2 separate regions of the Homo sapiens genome follow, and region 2 is linked to region 1. The links are contacts of gene promoters, found by promoter capture Hi-C in blood cells and fetal thymus (Javierre and others, 2016). All regions are on one chromosome and are shown on one strand. The core of a region is centred on a gene start or on the middle of the fragment in contact, and the rest is flanking DNA. Distances in the headings are between cores, read along the strand shown.

What was found. Contacts are between HindIII fragments. The CHiCAGO score rates a contact against its expected background, and 5 or more counts as called.
Region 2: a fragment that was not itself captured here is called in contact with the fragment with the promoter of GLCCI1 in region 1 in 1 of 17 cell types (erythroblasts); the score reaches 5.2 in erythroblasts.

What each region holds. Positions count from the first base shown.
Region 1 is chr7:7,967,402-7,970,101 of GRCh38, reverse strand. GLCCI1 (glucocorticoid induced 1) reads right to left here and starts at 1,306. Exons shown (of 8, transcript NM_138426.4): 1 at 295-1,306. The coding sequence starts at 751. It overlaps GLCCI1-DT (GLCCI1 divergent transcript), which reads left to right and starts at 1,350. Exons shown (of 5, transcript NR_110018.1): 1 at 1,350-1,558. RefSeq lists silencers at 414-493, 584-643, 724-1,123, 1,334-1,483. The HindIII fragment of the contact is 4,760 bases long and covers 1-2,311 here.
Region 2 is chr7:12,713,390-12,716,089 of GRCh38, reverse strand. No RefSeq gene overlaps it. Among named protein-coding and RNA genes, the nearest start is that of ARL4A, 27 kb to the right of the region's middle. RefSeq lists an enhancer at 1-496. The HindIII fragment of the contact is 264 bases long and covers 1,270-1,533 here.

The DNA.
Region 1 (2,700 bases), core at 57-2,556:
GCTACAAACGGCAAACACACGAATGAGCTAGCCAGCTCTTAAACTGAAAAACCTCTCGAAGCAGGCGAGTGATGGAAGAGAGACTCTGAGGGGCGGCATGAGGGTCAAATAAAAGTCGCTTTTCAGTTCGCTCCTCCAAGCCCCACAGCGACCGCAGGGGGGTGAGATTCCCAAAGCCACTTTCACACCTTCGATAATGCACTAGCAAAGAGAAGCCCGAAGAGGCTGAAGTTTCCACGGAGGGCACCGTCGGGGAGACGCAGCCCGGGAGGACGGGAGGGTTGGGCTCGCTACCTCTGCACACGGGCGAGCCGGGGCTCCGTCTCTCAGGTGAGCTGCTCCTCCGGTGGCTCTCTGGGGACCGTCTCGGGCGGCCCTTGGCCCGCGGCGCCTGCTCGGCCGGGGCTGCGGCCGCCGGCGGCGTCGGGCTGGACGGGCTGGGGCCGCGGGCCGCGCCGGGCCCCGGGAGGCTGCCCAGCGAGGCGGCGGCAGCGGCGACGGGCGGACGCGTGGGACTGTGCTGGCTGCCCCGCAAGAGCTGGTAGGGCACCGTGGCGCGGATGGGCTGCAGCAGCCGGCCGGCTCCCGCAGCCGGGGCGCAGCCCACGCCGCCGCCGCCGCCCGCACCGTTCCCGCTCCCGGCGGCGGCGACGGCGGGCGGGGACCCCGCGGCGCTGCGCCTCATCCTCTGCGACGGGGGATGAGGGGTCTGAGAGGAACTGGAGGAGGAGGAGGAGGAGGCAGTGGACATGGTGGCTCTGCGGGCCCTGGACGCCGCCGGCCGACACGGAGGCGCGGGGCGGGAGGCGCGCGAGCGTGTGGGAGCCGGCGCGATAGTGCGTGCGAGTGTGTAAGGGGGAGGGGCGGGGGTATCGCTGTGGGGGAGGAGTCTCGGGGCTCCCCCTCCCCAACGCACACCCCCGCCGCCTCGGCGAGGGGGGAGGGGAAGGCTGCGAAAACAAACGTCCAACGGCCGCAACCGCCCGGCTGGGCTCGGTGTGGCGGTCACGGCCGGGGCCGCAAGGAGCCCGGAGCCGCCGCCGCCACCGCTCCAGGCATCGTGCTGACAGGGCAACGGCCCGGATCACGCAGCCCCGAGGGCCGCTCGCAGCCTTCTCCTCAGCCCTCGCAGGGCTGCACGCACGGGAGAACCCGGCAGCTGCAAGGAGGGCCGGGACCCCTGCTTCTGGGGACCAGGGTAGAGAGAAAGGGCCTCGAGGTGCTGGCGCTCCTCGGAGTCCGCGCCACCGCAAACGCCGCCGCCGCCGCCGCCGCTTCTACCCACTCCTCACTCCGAATGGCAACTAATTCGCCCCAGCCGCACCCCGCCCCCGGCACCGCCTCCCAGCGCCCAGGACCCGGCAGCTGCCGCAGCGAGCATTTCCATTGGCTTAGGCGCTCCCCACTAGAACTCGAGTGATTGGTTCTGGAATAGGAGTGAGAGAAGCAGTGTCCAATGACAATGGTGCCTCCTACTTTGAAGGCGGGGCGTGAGGGGTGGCAGCGTGAGGTGGGGGCTGTGCGCGCAGGGAGGAGCGTAAAAGTTGACAGCCTTGAGGTAAGTGCGAGACTAGGAAAGTGGGACTGTGTGTGTCCTGCGCGTGTCCCGACACCCCCAGACACGCAAACGCCCCGCTAGGCAGGTTGCAGGGGCTCCACCCTCCTGGGCCGTCTGTATGACTTGAGACACAGGACACATGAGGCAAACTTTAATTTGCAAGTACACCTGCATCCGGTGGGATGTTTTAGTTAGAACCAGAAGACTGGATCTCTTTTAGTAAGCTGAGTTTTCGTGACCAGTAGCCTTATTAATCAAAAGAACTTCTGGTGATCAGGAGAAATGTCTGGAACCTGCACTGAACAAAGTAAAATACTCTTACAGCCTAACATTTGTAGTTATGCAGTGAAAAGAGATTATCAAGTTCTATGTTCCAAGACAATAACACTGAATAGCAGGGGTCAACAAGGAATTTTATGTCATTACACCATCAGTTAGATATATTAATGAAGGGCGCCCCTGGCTTTTCCGAAGCAGATAGCTTCTTGGGAGGAATAAATACCAGATGTAATGTAATAATCCATTGTGGTAAATTTGTTTTTTATTCTGTAATGAAACTGAAAGCGTACAAAGATTTTGGATGACTATCAAAAACATAAATTTACCCCACAGTAAACCAAGGTTTTAAACCTTAATCGGGAGCAATTAATGTAAGGATCTTCATCAGATAACTTTCATTAATTTTCAAGAGGTTAAAAGAGAAGCACAATGTCAAATTGGTCTGCTCGTGGTGTCTGCCCACACTGACAAGCTTCCTCTGATTTCAGGCACTATATGCAGGGGTCACTTTCACGTACAGGAGCCATCCTTCTTTTCTTCCTTGTGTGTTCAGACGAGAAAGCATACTAGGTTCAGTAAAAAAATTGATGAAACTCAATAAAAATACAAAAATTTCATGCAGTACTTCATCCAAGTAAAACTAGTGATAGTTCCTCAGTTTACCACATATTATAATAAGAGCTAACATTTATTCACCATGTGCCAGCCGCTATTCTAAGAACATTATGTGTGTTAATTCATTCAGTCCTCATATAATCCACAAGGTAGATACTATTATTATCCTTACTGTGGTCTCAGTTGTGGCATAAATAAGCTGTCTTGCCTGAGATCACATAGTTAGTATATGGGGAGCTAAAAATTTC
Region 2 (2,700 bases), core at 152-2,651, 4.7 Mb before region 1:
GCCATTAAACCAGCAGTTGTGAAGCTGCATTATAACACAGGGACAGTCACTCAGCTCAACACTTTACATTACAATAGGCAAGCCTCTGTGAGGCAGCTTTGAAATCCCAGAACTGTGGTCAAACTACGGACCTCCTGGAAGGACAAAGTGTTCTGTTTGTGTAGCACAAGGGTGTGGCTTTTGTAGCTAGTAAAATAATCTGAACACAAAGGCCTCCAGATCCTGCAGAGCACTCTGCAGTGAACTGACTCAGCGGAAAGCGGTGGGAAAGGAAGCTGGTTCTTAGATTTCAGAACCCTCCAAAGCTACACCCACCTCGCTTAGTTCTGACCCTGTGCAACAGGAAGGGGGTTTCATCAGCCAATGTGTGTGCACGCCCACGCAGACATATCCACTAGGCAGAAGACAGGATGAGAAACGCGGTGGGAAGGAACTCTAGTGGAGCCCAGTGCCGTCTCTTTGCAGCCTCTTGCCAAACTCCTGCTTTTTCTTCCTTTCACTGATGCAAAACCTAGTTGCTCTCATGGATTGAGGGAGGGAAGCCCTCTTATGATGTGGAGCCACTTTTAGCAACTGCTCTGAAAGAGGCTGCAAAATCAAACATCCCAGTTAGCATTGGGTGGATTGCTGAATATTGTGAAATAATCATAGAAGCTTTGATTGTCGATGTCCACTGGAGATCTGTGTGCCGGGAGCAAAATATTGGTATGTTACACATTTCATGTACGCAAATTAATTGGACAGTTAAAATCTATCAAAGGCGTCAATGGTAGGCTTTTTCTGTTTCTATTCACACACAGCCCCCACTGCCACCACCAATTTAGGCTTCATCTCAATAAACAGAATACATGTTTAGAAACTTATATAATTTAAAACCCTCTGATCCCTGAAAATTAAGAAAAAGGGGTCTGAATTTTTCATAATCAGTCCATATTGAATAGATTCCCCTCCTAATTGCTCAATTTTAATTTCATCAGATCATTTTGCCTAAAGACCACTTAGCCACCATCACCAAAAAAATGTGTAAACTTCTTGTGAAAAAGACTATACATATCAATGATCTGTGGAACTTAAATTCCAAGGAAACACATATTCAGAAAAAAAAATCATTCACTAGGATAAACCAGAAACACTATATTGATTTACCTTTCCTGAAACTACTAAAAAGTCCAGTAACTTAAGAACACATTTTTAAAATTTAATTCATTAAATTACATATAATACATTTCCAAAAAAGTTCAAAATATGCATGGACAGTTAGCAGAAGCTTTATTGTGAGATTTTTGCGAAAAAAAATTTATAAAGTTAACCCCAAAGCAACCTAATATGTTGATAGTCTCCTGCAAATTAAAATTCAATACACTATTGAATATTTTTATTATAGTTTTGAAAACAAAAGGTTAAAATACCTATAATTGGTAAAATATATGACTTCCCTTCCCTTCACCAAGATTACTAAATGTAATAGAGTGGGTTTTGTGTATGTGTGTTTGTGTGTGTGGTTTTTGTTGGACAGCGATTTATTTCAAAGCTTTTCTTTGTATAACTAGATTACATGACTCCTTTTCTAAATGTTCTGAAGGGCACAATTGGGAGCAGTAAAAGATAAACTGCACTGTCTATAATTATGTGATAATAGAACTCCAAGAAAGGTGAAGTTTCTTACAAAGTATATGGGAGTTAGAGAATATTTCTATCTACAATGTACTGTCCTTGAGAATGAACATTTGTCTTTGGAAGATGTGTATTCACCCAAACAGTGTGTACTGAATATGTAGTATACACTAGGCAGTGTTTTAGGTTCTAGGAATACAGTGGGGAACAAGGCAGAAAACTTTCCTACTCTCTTGGACCCCATAGCCCAGTGAAGGAAGACAAACATTAAACACATAAACAACTAAGTAAACAAGAAAATATCAAGTCATGGTAAGTGCAAGGAGAAAATTACAACAGAATGTAATTTTACTTAGCAAATAAAAATGCAGGAGACTGATTTATATGTGTGTGTGTGTGTGGATGTGGAAGGATGGCTGGATGGATAGATAAGAGAGTTCAGGAGAGAGAGACACACACATCAGGACACACTACCCCAAAATATGGCACCTTGGCATATTGAATATTTTAAGCTGAAGGAATTTGAGAAAATAGCATAAGCAGGAAGGTCTCTGTGAAGTTCCGCCTCCCTTCTCCCCTGAAGCAGATCATAAAACCTAGGAAGCATGTTCTGACCTTCCCTTGAAGCAGTGCATAAGATCCTTATGTGAGAGGTGCTTCCCTATTCCTGGAGGAAAGGAATATCCTTATCTCCAAGGACACAGAGTCACAGAGAGTAATCTGAACAAATAAGCCTTGACAAGTTTCTCCCAGCTCATTACATGTAGCTCATATCCCCTTTGTCCTATCATATTTCTCCATGACTTTCCACTCTTCATCAAACCTACTATGGAAAAACACTCAAGTTTAAAACTGTTTATTGAGTTTTCATTTCCTTCTGAAGGTTCCCTTGTCACGGAAAACTGATATTAAATAAATGTGTATGCTTTTTGCTTGTTAGTCTTTCGTTTGATACAGGGGTCTCGAGCACTGAACCTAAAATAAGTAGAGTAAAACTATTTTTTCTCCCCTACAATACACACACACTCTTAATGCTGCTAGGACCGTGGTTCCCAATCATGATACCGTGAACCCACAGGAGTGTTA